Regions from separate parts of the Homo sapiens genome. Here all the other regions are linked to region 1. The links are contacts of gene promoters, found by promoter capture Hi-C in blood cells and fetal thymus (Javierre and others, 2016). All regions are on one chromosome and are shown on one strand. The core of a region is centred on a gene start or on the middle of the fragment in contact, and the rest is flanking DNA. Distances in the headings are between cores, read along the strand shown.

Region 1 (2,700 bases), core at 201-2,700:
TGAAGCACCTTGAGAAAGGTGCATGTGAAAGGTTTCCCTTCTAGGGAATACAGTGATGAAAACTTGGGGAAAGTGCCACCTTAACTACACGGTCCTCAGAAAGACTCTTACTATAGCAGCTGGGGTGTTCACCTCTTCTCAAAATTACTCCACAGTTCTTCCCTCACATTGCCTGCATTTCTGCTAAAGCAGTAGTCTCAGTTCTCCTGTCAGACTAAGAGCTGTTTGAGGATGGGAACTGAACTTTTGCCTCTCTGTAGCTCCTTAGCACGCAAGTTTATACCAGGTTCTCAAGCTAAGAACTTCAGGGCTTGAAGATCCCTCACAGACTCTCTCTCTCCTTAAAAGTGTGTGTGTGTGTGTGTGTCAATGAGAAAACTGAGGCCCAGGTGTGTGTGTGTGTGTGTGTGTGTGTGTGTGTGTGTGTGTGTGTGTCAATGAGAAAACCCAGGAAAGGAGAAATGCCAGGTCTCCTAACTCCCAGTCCGTGTATCTTGACTGTAACATAATATGTACATACTCATTCATGCAACCCTAAACCACTGAGCAATCACACATCACAAGCTACAGAATAATGGTTAGGTGTTTCTGCCTCTGGCAGCAGGCAGGCCTACTTTGTCATTCACTAGGTCTTTGACCCTGGGCAGTTTAATTCTTTGGACTGTTTCCTGATCTATAGTAAGAAGAGTAAGATGCTATCTACCCCATAAGGCTGTTGTGAGGACGAAATAAGATCATTCACTAAAACGCTTAGCGAGGTTCCAGGCACACATTAAGCACTCAATTAACGCTAGGTACTATTATTACAGGGCTCTGAGGCCTAAAGGTTATATTGCTTGCTTTCAAAGAGCTGACAGTTTAATCAGACAAAAAGGGGATGATTGAAATGGACAAGGAACAATCAGGGCCATAACAGGCCTAAGGGCACAGGGAGGGCTCGATTCTGCATGCAGGGTGAAGACCACTGCAAGTCAGATCTCCAAGATTTGCCAGGAGGACGTAGGGAAGGGCATCCTAGGGCAAGGACAGGCATCTAAGGGGCCCCGCCGATAGTTCAGAGAAGAGCGCTGCCCGCACATACTCACGGCGCGTGTCGGCCCCGGCGCTCTCCCGCCTCACCGGCAGCAACAGAACGGAGGGTCGCCCAGTCCCTGCACAGGGAGATAAAAGGCACAGACGCGCGGGATGAGCCCTGAGGAGCTCTCTGCACTGGGCACGCCGCTGCGCCTGACCCCGGTCTCAGCTGGCTGCCCGTGCTCACCCCTGGTCAGCGCCGAGGCCCCCAAGATCCCGCGCCACCACAGCCTGGCTACCGCCGCCGCCGCCATGTTACTCAGATGCAGACTAGGCAGCGGACGGAAAGACAGCAGGACACGGAGCCCCAAGGGCACGGACCGGAAACGGAAGTGTGCAGCAGATCTTCTTCCGGGCGGACGTGGAGCCGGAAGCGGAGGTTCCGGGCTCCGGGATGAAAGGAGGGAACGCAGGTGAGAAAGCGAGACAGGCAGGTAGGGAAATCGTGAGGTGAGCGTGGTCCTAGCTCCTTGTGGCAGAGCCTAGAGAGAAGGCGAGGACGCTGAAGAACCAGGCGGGTGAGAGGAGGGGAGGGGGCGGGCGTTTTGGGTTCTACGCTACACACCCCTCCCCCGCTCTCTGAGCCAAGCTTTTGACGAGGGCGGGCGGGCCTGAGCGGGAAGAACGGTTTCCCTGGCGACCGTTTCCAAGACGACTCAAGGTGGAGCGGGGACATTGCACAGGGTGATGGGCCTCCCAGTGCCCCGGCCTGGGGGCGGATGGACTCAAGTTCTGGGACGCAGCCATAGGGAGTCTTTCGAGCGAGCGGGGAAGTGTGGGGGAAGCAGCTCAGAAGAGAGCAAATGTAAGACCCACGGATATCCCAGGCTAGGCTTCATATGGAGCGTCTTAACTCCATGCGCTGGGAAGGAGAGGACCTGGCCACTAGGCCGGGGCCAGGGGTCCTTTTTGTCTGATTCTACTGCCCCTGAGCTTCACTAGTTTTATGCCCCAGTTATTTGGTTAGTAAGGCTTTTACGATCACAGGCCTCTCCCAGCCCTTTGCTTTCATATATTGACCTAAATCCCAAGTCTTTTGTTAACATTATGGAAAGGAATTATTCCGTGTTTTCTCAGGAAAACACCCAGAGTTGGAACTTTTATTTATATCATTAGCGGAGGGGCGCCACTGGGGATAACGAACCCAGATTTGGTTAAAGGATAGCGTCAGGGACATCATGGACAGGGCCAGGACTAAGGCCAATCTGGACCCACTTTGCTCTCACTTCTTCCTTTTCCCTCCCTGAGTTGGACAGTTGGATTCACAGACTATGGCTGTGAATTCCTCAGGTTACTCAAGATGGTGTTGCTTTGCAGACAGCTGGCAGAGAGAGAAGTTGGCTAGCATGGAATCACCAGAGGAGCCTGGAGCATCCATGGATGAGAACTACTTTGTGAACTACACTTTCAAAGATCGGTCACATTCAGGCCGTGTGGCTCAAGGCATCATGAAACTGTGTCTAGAGGAGGAGCTCTTTGCTGATGTCACCATTTCGGTGGAAGGCCGGGAGTTTCAGCTCCATCGGCTGGTCCTCTCAGCTCAGAGCTGCTTCTTCCGATCCATGTTCACTTCCAACCTGAAGGAGGCCCACAACCGGGTGATTGTGCTGCAGGATGTCAGCGAGT
Region 2 (2,700 bases), core at 150-2,649, 750 kb after region 1:
AATCTGAAACTCTGTATCTAAATATTTCTCTTATCCCCCTCCCAAGCCACACCCCCACCCCATCTTTGGTTACTACCATTCTACTTTCTGGTTCTATGAATTCATGAATTTGACTGCATACCTCATAAAAGTGGGTTCATACAGTATTTGACTTTTTTTGTGACTGTTAGTAGATTTTTTTCTCTAATTTTTAAAATGTTTAATTCGCTCATAAGCACAGCACAGGGTATTATCCATTTGTGTGTGCATACACACATACACTCATTGTACTATGTTTATTGCAGTTAACTGAAGTCCTATGTCACTAGAATGCTATGTAACAGAAAATGTTGGTCATACCTCTTGTGATAAATATTTGTTGGGTACTTATTTTGTATCACACATTGGAAGAAAAAGATAATTAAGATACATTCCAGCCCTTGCCCTTGAGGAACTCACAATCTGATGAGAAAGGCTGATCTGCAAACCATTACCCTCAGAACAGTTAAGCTTGATGGGAATATAATGAATGAAGGTCTTAATTACCTAATTCAGAGGTATTCTTTACAGTTAAATGCATTGTAGAATGAGACTGTCTTGGCAGTTCAAAAATCAGACTGTTTTAATCTGAATCCATTTTTTACTTGGCAACTTTATTTATTTATCTACCCCGCCCCCACCCAAGTAAGGAAAAGATACTTGGCAACTTTAGCTTAGGGTTCTCTAAAACCTTCAGAATAAGAGTAACCTGAGTCTGCTCCCTGGTGGAGCAATCTTCATAACTGTTCTTTGGATTCTTAAATTTCTGCTTTATTCCTGTTGTGGATAGGAGAAATTGGGTTACTTACAAATGGTCTTTAAGCTTACTACATTGATTCCTGTACTGATCTGATGATGGCCCAAGGCTTTAAGGAGGTGTGTTGATTCATCTAAATTAGGTGGAGTAATATGGACTTAAAAAAAGCACATATCTTTCCTGTTGGTATGATGGGAGACACAAAATGCAGTCAAACCTTGTAAACTAGGATTCAGGACAAACTCCTCCTACAAAAAGAAAATTAAAACTAGTTGCTAACCTTTGGAGATCTCAGAGACTAGGACTTAACTCCTTGAAATATTAATGCCGTTTCTACTACAATTTTCTTAAGAACTCTTCATATTAAATTAGATGATTGCACATTACAATTGTATTGGCATGCAAGATTACTTACATAGACTTGTACATTTATTTACGTTGACTTTTAGGTCAATTTTTGAAAGATCACATTTTACACACAAGATGGGGAAGGTTATTTTTCTTTTTTTCTTTTATAGAGGTATGGTTTTGGTTAGTTGTTCAGGGTGGAGTGCTGTGGTGCAGTCTGGCTCACTGCAGCCTAGTCCTGGGCTCAGGATCCTCCCACCTCAGCCTCCGGAGTAGCTGGGACTAGTCTTGTACCACCATGCCCAGCTAATTTTTTATTTTTTGTAGAGATGGGGTCTCACTTTGTTGCCCAGGCTGGTATTTTTCTATTTCACCTTCTATTACCTTCCTGCCCATCTTGTATCATTGTCCAGGATTCCTCCAGTTTTGTAAAGAACGAATTCCGTGAAAAGGTGAGGTGGAGCATTGTAGGATCTTTTCCAGGCCTTTGAGTTGCCATTTGAAGAACTGCTCGAGTCCAAAGGAGGTTAATGAAGTAAGCAGCTTACATATAATGAGGGGCTATGTATCTACCTTGATGCTTTGGCTGTTACCTGCAGTAATTTTTTTCACCCTTGGAGGAGGGATTAGGATTGTGATAGTGGGAACTGGTCATCTCCTTTGTTTCTGGAATATTACGTGTAATACTACCAAAAAAAGAGGTCCACCCAACTGCAGTAGTCTTCCTAGTTGGTCCATCATTTGCCTCTTGCCTGGGAAAGCCTAGGACCTAGAAGCAGCGCCTGAGGCCTGCAAACCTCTGGGCGAAGATACACTGCGGCCCCTTTAAGCTTTCAGAGTGTGCGGAGAGGGGAGCTGAGGGTGGGGCGGGCACTCTGACAGTGGCGCTCCGGGCCCCGCCCTCGGAGGAGGCGTTTCCCAGCGGACCGCAGCACCAATGCTGCTGCCGCCGCCGCCGCCGCCTGCCGGGTATTCCTGCTGATCCTGCTCGGACCTTAGCTTCCCTGACCTCTCCCTGCCCGGGGAGCGTAAGTGTCAAACCACGGGCAAAGGGCAAGCATCCCGCGACCGTGCTGCAAGTCCTGGTGGACAGTACTGGGGACTTTGCTGGCCTATCAGAGGCTAAGGCGGCGAAAGAGCGTAAACAATGCCGGCTCCAGTGAGCTAAAGCCAGGGTATCTGCTCTACTTCTGGGTGGTGACAGCAGCCGTAGGGTGCTTGTTTGGGCATGCAGTGGGTGAGCAGTGCCCACGACCTGGCTTTGCCCCCACCTGGTTCTTACTTGGGGTGAGGAGAGGGTTGCTTTTACCAGAGTATAACCCATTTGAGCTGAATGGGTGGAGCTGAATCTCTCTCTCTGGGCCTTGGATCCTTACCCTGGTATTTGAAGACCTTGGTAGCTTTGGGATGAGTAAGCATTAGGTTTTCAGCTACCTTGGTACAGTCGAGCAGTAACTCCAAGTTGTCCTAATTCACAGCCAGGTTTAGCTGTCTCTCCAGAGGCCTGTGTTGGTGGTATCCCGTACCCCTTTTGGATATGTTGACAGTGAACATCTCTTAGGAAGAGTCCAGTTAAC
Region 3 (2,702 bases), core at 59-2,558, 540 kb before region 1:
TTATTGATCTTTTCTATTGTTTTTCTAGTGCCTATTTCATTTATTTCAGCTTTGACCTTTATTATTTTGTTCCTTTTACTAATTTGAAGATTAGTTTGTTCTTATTTTTCTAGTTCCTTAACGTGCTACATTAGGTTATTTACTTGAGGGTTTTGTTTTGTTTTTTTCAGACAGGCTCTCAAAACCCAGGCTGGAGGTATGAGCTTGCTTTTTTTTTTTTTTTTTTTTTTTTTTTTTTTTTTTGAGACAGAATCTTGCTCTGTTGCCCAGGCTGGAGTGCAGTGGTGCGATCTCGGCTCACTGCAATCTCTGCCCTCTGGGTTCAAGCAATTCTCCTGCCTCAGCCTTCCTAGTAGCTGGGATTACAGGTGTGTGTCACTACACCCAGCTAATTTTTGTATTTTTAGTAGAGACGGGGTTTCACCATGTTGGCCAGGCTGGTCTCGAACTCCTGACCTCAAGTGATCCGCCCATCTCGGCCTCCCAAAGTTCTGGGATTACAGGCACGAGCCACTGTGCCCAGGGAGCTTTCTTTTTTGATGTAGGAGTTTATTGCTGTCAACTTTCTTGGAAGGGCTGCTTTTGGTGTATCCCATAGGCTTTAGTATATTGTGTTTCCATTTTCATTTGCTTCAAGAAATTTTTAAATGTCCCTTTTAATTTCTTCACTGACCCATTGATTGTTCAGGGGCATTTGTGACAAAACAATTAACAATAGTTACTGTGGGAGATGGCAAGATCAGCATGACCCCTGCTGGGGACCTGCTGTAAGTGACCTGGGGACAGATCCTATACCAGGGGCTGTACAAGCATTTTCTAATTTATGTCTCACAGCAATTTCATGAAGGAGGTTATGGCACCATTTTAAAGAAGAAAAAGAAATATGTTAACAAAATTGCTTAAGAAGTGATGTTTGTCTCAAGATATTTTTTAGTTTCCCTTTTAATTTCATCATCAACCCATTAGTTATTCAGGAGCATGTTGTTTAATTTCCATATATCTGTGAATTTTCTTAAGTTCCTCCTGTTATTTATTTCTAGTTTGATGCCATCATCAGAAAAGATACTTGATATGATTTCACACTTCTTAAATCTGTTAACACTTGTTTTGTGGTCTAACATATGATCTACCTGGAGAATGTTCCAGGTGCAGTTGAAAAGTGTGTATTCTACAGCTGTTGGATGGAATGTTCTGTATATGTCTGATACATCCATTTGGTCTAAACTGTAGTTTAAGTCTGATGCTTCCTTATTGATTTCCTGTCTGGATCATTGTCCATTGCTGGAAGTAAGGTGGTGGAAGTCCTCTACTATGAATGCATTGCAGTCAATCTGTCCATTCAGATCCATTAATATTTGCTTTATATATTTAGGCATTCCAATGCTGGGTGCATATATATTTATAATTGTTAAGACCTCTTGATGAATTGATCCCTTTATCATTATAAAATGATGTTTGTTGTCTCCATTAAAAGTTTTGAACTTAAAGTCTATTTTATCTGACATAAGTATAGCTACTCCTGCCACTCTTTAGATTTCCATTAGCATGGAGTATCTTTTTCCATCCCTTCACTTTCAGTCTAGGCATGTCCTTGCAGGTGAGGTGAGTCTCTTGTAGACAGCATACTATTGAGATCGGTTTTTTTTTTTAACCCATTCACGCACTCTATGTCTTTTGATTGGAGAATTTAAACCCTTTACTTTCAAGGTTATTATTGATAGGTAAGAACTTACTACTGCCATTTGGTTGTTTTATAGACTCTTTGTTCCTTCCGTCCTCTCTTACTATCTTCCTTTGAGGTTAAGTGATATTCTCTAGTAGTATGTTTTGATTCCTTGCTTTTTATTTTTTGTGTATCTACTAAAGGTTCTTCTTTGTGGTTACCATGAGGCTTATAAAAAGAATCTTATAGTTATAACAGGTTATTTTATGCTGATGACAACTTTGATCACACACACAAATTGACCTCTACACTTCTAGTCCATTCCCCACTCATATTATGAATTGTTTATGTCACCATTTACATCTTTTTATATTGCATATCCCCCCTGCAAGTTATTGTAGTTATTATTTTTTAAGTATTATCTTTTAACTTTCATATTAAAGATATGTATGACCATTACAGTATTCATGTATTCTGAATTTGACTGTGTATTTATTTTACTAGTCTTATCCTTTCATATGTTTTCAATTAATCACTAGTGTCCTTTTCTTTCAGCTTAAAAACTCTCTTTAGCATTTCTTATAAGACATGTCTAGTGGTGATGAACTCCCTCAGCTTTTGTTTCTCTGGTAAAGTCTTTTATCTTGCCTTCATTTTTGATGGCCAGTTCTGCTGGGTATAGCAATCTTGGTTGGCAGGTTGTTTTCCCTCAGCATGGTGAATATATCATCCCACTCTCTCCTGGCCTGTAAGTTTCTGCTGAGAAGTCTGCTGCTAGCTGAAGTGGAGCTCCCTTACATGTTATTTGCTTCTTTTCTCTTTTTGCTTTCCAAATCCCCATTGTCTGTGATGTTTGACAGTGTGATTATGTTCTGGAGTAGTCTTGTTTGAATTGACTCTGATTGGAGTCATTTGTCCTTCCTGTACCTGGATATTTATATCTTTCTCCAGGTTTGGAGAGTTTTCTGCTACTATTTCTTTAAATAAGCTTTCTACCTCTTTATCTTTCTCTTCCCCTAGATGAACTCCAATTCAAATA
Region 4 (2,782 bases), core at 130-2,629, 660 kb after region 1:
CTACTGCCTAACAAGGAGTTAACACCTTACATCTTTTATGTTGTTGTTGTTGCTGTCGCAAAGTATGGTTCATGTTAGCTTTGGTAAAAGATGGTAATTTGAAGTGAAAGTACTGAAAAAAACAAGCAAGGATGAAATGTCAATGTATCCATTTAGAGAAATCTAATAACCACTTTGCACTATGCCAAATTACTTTCCCCTCAGCTAACAGGGGGCATTTGGGTCTTCCTGACTCTATTTACTGGTGAGGAAAGTGAGTTAATGAAATCCATAGATGATCCAAGCCCAAGAAATGCTGGCATATCAGCTGGGAGGGAAAAAAGCGATATACTGGGCCATCAGAAAGTTGGGCATTTGGGCAAAAGGAACAAAACAAGATTCAACCTGGAAAAATGGAAGGTGGTGAAATTAATCCGTATTATTAATATGCATTAGGGAGAGTAGACCACAAAAGGAAGGAAGACTAGAGACAAGTTTATGATTTTATGCAGTAAATCAAAAGTTAAATCTGAGGGAAGGACCTACAGACTGGGGCTGGAAGGAGGCTGAGGGCTTTGTGGGAGTGCAGCTGCCCATGAGGACTCCTTTCCTGACCCCCTCCCTTCCTTGTCAGGATCAGAAAGTCAAAGAAGGTGAAGAGGCTAACAACAGTGATTTACAAAGACAGCAAGGAGGAACTAAGTCTGTATGGGCCGAATCTGGGCCTCTGAGCTGGAGCAACAGGACCCAGACAACCATCTCAGGAAATGAGTGAATGAAAAGGGGCGGGGGGGTCGGTGAATTATTTAGCCCTAGAACAACGCTGCCTAGACCGGGGGAGGCCAGGGAGAAGAAAATCTCCGAAAAGGAATTTTGACAGTGAGAACGCCAGTTAAGATACAGCACTCCAGGCCCCCTGATGTCCCTTGTTTGATGTCAATAAAGACCCAAGAGGATTATGCATCCACAAGCCTTGCGTATTCGCAGACATCAAAAAAGTCTGGACTTGGGGCCGGTAGGCGGGGGCAGGGTCACGTCCAGGCGACTTGGGTCAGCTCAGGTGCTCGTCTGAAGCATAGAGCTGGAGTGAGCGGGGGCGAGACTTGCTGCTAGGATAATTTTTTTTTTTTAAGTTAGGGAAATTTAAGCAGTAGTAATAGCGACAGGGAGGGGGCTCTCTCTCGGGCCAGGAATGTGGGGGCGGCCTGAGGAGGAGCGGGGCCCCGCGCAGGAGGCGCCGGCGGGTGGGGTCGGGGGACCAGGGAGCCGGGGCCGAGGGCGGGAAGGGGCCGGGCCGGCGCTGGGGGCGGGCCCAGGCGCGGTGGCGGTGGCCGGGGCTGCGGCGCGGGGGGCGGGGCGGTCGGGCCCGGGACACCCCCTCCCGGTCCCCTGGCGGGGCAGCGTCGGCTCTGGCAGCACTGGAGGCGGCGGCGGCCCGAGGGCGACTTGCGGGGCGCGCAGGCCGCCGTGCACCCGGGACGCTTCCCCCTCGGGGACCCTCCGCGGGCTTCTCCGCCGCGCCGTCCGGCGGGAGCCGGCGGGACCCCGGGCGAGCGGCGCGGGCGGCACCATGAGGCGGCAGTGGGGCGCGCTGCTGCTTGGCGCCCTGCTCTGCGCACACGGTAAGCGGCGCCCGCCGGGAAAGTTTGTCCCTGGGTCCGGCCGCTGCAGGACTCGCCTCCCGGGACCTGGACGGCGCGGGCCGGGGCCTGAGACCCCTCGCCCTCGCTCCTAGCCGTGGCCCTGGGGCTGCGTGCAGGGGAGAGGACCCGGAGCGGCCCCGGCTCCAGCAGTCCGAGCGGGGGCATCAGCGGAGGCGCTTCCGCGGGTTCGGGTCTGGGCCGGGGCGCGGGTCTGGGCCGGGGCGCGGGTAAGGTCCGGGGCGTTCGTTCGCTCGCCCTCCCTCGCTGCTCTTTCAAGAGCGGGGGCTGCTTCCCTTTCAGGTTAGGTCGGGGGCTCTGTGTCCTTGGTGCGAATGAATGCGTGCGAAGAAAGGGAGGCGGGTGAGGAGGGTCGCTAAACCCATAAATTGTAAATAGCCCTCCTTCCTGGGGCTGGGGGCTCGGGCGGGTTGCGGAGAGAGGCCCCGGTAGAATCTGGTACTTGGGCACCGGGATTCCTCTACTCGGAGAACGATTCCCGGACTCCAGGTCTTGCTCCCACCAAGGGGCTCTGGGGCACTGTTTGCGGGCAGCATCTCCCCTCGGCGGTGTTTCGGGGTCCCTCTCTTGGCTGCGGCCAGTCAGCTTCCAGCCCTGGATCGTCCTAAAGGGAGGTGGTTGGAAAGGGGGCTGAGGAGGAATATAGGGAAGAAACTGCTGGAAGGCTCCCGCAGATCTGCCCTGGCTGGGGTAGGGGGGCAGGGGGCCGGTAACCCTGAACCCCAGAAGGCAGCCGCCGGGCCCTCGCGGCAGGGTCCCAGCCCTCGGGGGAGCTGGACGGCTGCAGCAGGACTCCTTGGTGCCCGTACCCCCTGTTGTGTGGGACTAGGGCTCCGATGGAATCTGCTTCTCCGCGGGCTCTTAACGACCCTGGGTGCACCCCGTGATTGAGCAGCTTTCCCTAGTTTGTGCCCAGAGATCAAAGAACTTTGATCTTTGAACCCCAGCCCTATTCACCCATCGCTATTCATCGTGGCGGGAGTTCCGAGTCTCCCCATTTGCCTCGCAGCCCCGATGAAGGGAGCTGGGGCTCAGAATGGAGGGGTCTGGAGACCCTGCCTGGTCTTTTACCGGTTCTTTCTTTCACGTAGGACAGCTCGTGTGGAAAAAGTCAGTGCAGATTTCCGAACTTGCCTGGCAGG
Region 5 (2,700 bases), core at 51-2,550, 640 kb after region 1:
AGGAAGCAAGAATTACTGCCCTTTGAACCAATAGGGGTTTTTTGGTTTGTTTTTATCTTTTTAGTGAAGAGGAAAAAACACAAGCTGTGGAATATGACAAACCTGGGTATGAACCCCTGTTTACTATGCATCATTGCCTGTGTGACCTTGTGCAAATCAATTAGCCTTTCTAAGCCTCAGCTTCCTTATTTATAAAATGAGAAGATGATATTAATAACTACTAATTGGGACCAGTAAGAGTACCCACTTCATATGGTAGTTGTGAAAATTAAATGAGATAAACCACAGTGCCAGGCATATAGGAAGAGTTCAAAAACTATAGCTTAAAAAAAAAACTACCCAATTTATTGTGATTCTTCTAAATGTCTAGTCCCCAAAGGAGAAAGGCCATCTTTGATTTCTAGAGTTATCTATTATACTAACCCACTATCAACCGTAGTGAGAATAAGCAGGTTCCATGGAAAAGAAGAGGCAACTTGGAGCGTGAGTGAAAGCATGCACCTCACCAAATTAGGTGGAGTAAAAAATAAACCTCACGCCCTCATGCTTATACTCAGGTCAGCACGTAGGTGGTATGTTTGGCAAACCTGGGACCAGAACAGGCTGCCCTTTGGCTCTAGAGAGCTCGCCACACCCAACCAGATACACAGACACACCTTCAGCCTCTGGCAGAAGCTTCCACTAAGTAGGTTTCATAAGGCTGGAAACCTTTTGCGGGTCCTACAGAGAGGGTCTATACTTATTTCATCTCCTTACCAGACTCTCCTTTCTCTCTTCAGGCCTAGGCATTAACACAATTTTTATCACTACATTCTGATGACTGCAGACATGAACATCACTAAGCTATTCTTTAGTGATGATCTTAAGATCTTAAGCCATGCAAGGCCATGATTACAGGTTCCTAATCTACAAAGTCAGTGGGGAAAGGATCAGTTTACCCAACATGATAAAAGATTGATTTCTTCACTAATAGTCAGAAAGGTAAATACAATCCCTAGCTAGCAGGGAGAAAGGGATATCTCTAGATATTCTTTGGATAGGTATCCCTGTAATTTACACCATAATCCTAAAGAGAGGTCTCCAGATACACTAACCAAGGGGAACTCAACTTTAGCTTTTGGGTTTCACTGAATGCCTAGGGCTTTCCAGTCTGCAGTTTTGTTTTCTCTATAAGTATAGTCTTCTTTAGGCTTACACATACAAGTAACTTTATAATGTATAAAAATAAAAACAAATGGAAAAATCACAGGTATTTAAAAATTTAAATCAGGAAATATTTTATTAATCTATTCTGTAGGGAGTGGTTTTAAACGGTCATTAGATTGAGGGTGAATAGGTTGGCCAGGCGTGGTGGCTCACACCTGTAATCCCAGCACTTTGGGAGGCTAAGGTGGGTGGATCACCTGAGGTCAGGAGTTCGAGACCAGCCTGGCAAACATGGTGAAACTCTGTCTCTACTAAAAATACAAAAATTAGCTGGGCATGGTGGCAGGTGCCTGTAATCCCAGCTACTTGGGAGGCTGAGACACGAGAATCACTTGAACCCTGGAGGCGGAGGTTGGAGTGAGCCAAGATCACATCATTGCACTCCAGCCTGGGTGACAGAGCGAGACTCCGTCTCAAGAAAAAAGAAAAAAAAAATTGAGGGTGAATAGGTCAAAGCAGCATGCCTCTAAGAGAGACAAATTGTAAAAGGCAGGGATAGTTCTCAACTAAAGACAAACGCATTTCAGCAGAGTGATACGGTTTGATGAACCAGGAGAAGGCAGTGAGGGGTGTGACCATGCTGAGGGCAGTATGAATGTCTAGTTAGTGGTTAGGACAAGGAATTAAGACACTTAAATATGCAACAAAGCATGAAGAAGCATTTGTATAGGATTCAATTATTAGGTGATTGGTTGGGCTTCACAAACATTGAAGCTTTTTCAACCAACCTGAGACTCTGATTCTGTTTGTAGATTCATTCTCAACACTGCCACTGAATTGGCCTTCCTGAAAACGCCATTTATGAAGAGACCACCAACTTCTATTCACCAAGGCACCAATACACCAAATCTGCCAAGCCTTTGAGACATAAAATTCAAACAGCAAACACCCAAGGAACTGAACAATGAACTAGCCTTTTCAAATATTTCATATATTCATTGAGTACTGGGTAATAAAATACATAAAATCTTTGGAAAAAAGTCTAGGCATTGCTTGACATTGATACTGTTATTCATTAGATACAAAATTGTCTGTGATATCCCCTTTTAGCTGATTAATGGATGTGGTCACTGTCTTAAGCTCTCTCTCTATATATATGTCTATATATATGTTCATGTATATATGTGTATATATATAGCTTTCAAAGACCAATCAGCCCTTAAACTTGGTAAAAAGGCACTCAACTTCATTTAAAAATGCATATTAAATCTACTCAGACTATCTGTCACTTAGATTGAAAAAAATCCAAGTTTGATGTATTTTGTTGTCAGCACAATGGGGAAACAGGCATTCTCTTTCATTGCTGGTGGCAAAATGGTACAACACCTATTAAGGGCAATCTGACAATATCTATAAGTACTTCAATGCATATGCCCTTAATCCACCAATTCCACTTTGTGGAACTTATTCTTGCAGATACACTTGCAAAGGAACAAAACTGCAGGTTATTCATTGCAGCATTCTTAGTAACAGCAAAAGGCTAAAAACAACTTG

Evidence for each region. Contacts are between HindIII fragments. The CHiCAGO score rates a contact against its expected background, and 5 or more counts as called.
Region 2: a contact is called between a fragment that was not itself captured here and the fragment with the promoter of KBTBD4 in region 1, in 2 of 17 cell types (fetal thymus and erythroblasts). The highest score is 6.9, in fetal thymus.
Region 3: a fragment that was not itself captured here is called in contact with the fragment with the promoter of KBTBD4 in region 1 in 1 of 17 cell types (naive B cells); the score reaches 6.4 in naive B cells.
Region 4: a contact is called between the fragment with the promoter of LRP4 here and the fragment with the promoter of KBTBD4 in region 1, in 1 of 17 cell types (naive CD8 T cells). The highest score is 5.5, in naive CD8 T cells.
Region 5: a fragment that was not itself captured here is called in contact with the fragment with the promoter of KBTBD4 in region 1 in 2 of 17 cell types (non-activated CD4 T cells and fetal thymus); the score reaches 5.7 in non-activated CD4 T cells.

What each region holds. Positions count from the first base shown.
Region 1 is chr11:47,577,720-47,580,419 of GRCh38, reverse strand. KBTBD4 (kelch repeat and BTB domain containing 4) reads left to right here and starts at 1,450. Exons shown (of 4, transcript NM_018095.6): 1 at 1,450-1,487; 2 at 2,392-2,700. The coding sequence starts at 1,469. It overlaps NDUFS3 (NADH:ubiquinone oxidoreductase core subunit S3), which reads right to left and starts at 1,346. Exons shown (of 7, transcript NM_004551.3): 1 at 1,262-1,346; 2 at 1,086-1,151. The coding sequence starts at 1,328. RefSeq lists enhancers at 573-1,231, 1,300-1,539, 1,232-1,891. The HindIII fragment of the contact is 1,977 bases long and covers 1-1,665 here.
Region 2 is chr11:46,826,213-46,828,912 of GRCh38, reverse strand. The region is part of intron 1 of CKAP5 (cytoskeleton associated protein 5); the gene reads left to right. Among named protein-coding and RNA genes, the nearest start is that of CKAP5, 19 kb to the left of the region's middle. RefSeq lists enhancers at 1,625-2,175, 2,176-2,700. The HindIII fragment of the contact is 1,112 bases long and covers 844-1,955 here.
Region 3 is chr11:48,115,082-48,117,783 of GRCh38, reverse strand. The region is part of intron 3 of PTPRJ (protein tyrosine phosphatase receptor type J); the gene reads right to left. Among named protein-coding and RNA genes, the nearest start is that of MIR3161, 20 kb to the right of the region's middle. The HindIII fragment of the contact is 2,690 bases long and covers 1-2,653 here.
Region 4 is chr11:46,917,147-46,919,928 of GRCh38, reverse strand. It overlaps LRP4 (LDL receptor related protein 4), which reads left to right and starts at 1,379. Exons shown (of 38, transcript NM_002334.4): 1 at 1,379-1,601. The coding sequence starts at 1,550. RefSeq lists enhancers at 650-1,154, 2,318-2,782 and silencers at 1,215-1,444, 1,455-1,634, 1,645-1,814. The HindIII fragment of the contact is 10,743 bases long and covers 1-2,782 here.
Region 5 is chr11:46,940,279-46,942,978 of GRCh38, reverse strand. The region is part of intron 1 of CSTPP1 (centriolar satellite-associated tubulin polyglutamylase complex regulator 1); the gene reads right to left. Among named protein-coding and RNA genes, the nearest start is that of CSTPP1, 4.9 kb to the right of the region's middle. The HindIII fragment of the contact is 1,245 bases long and covers 678-1,922 here.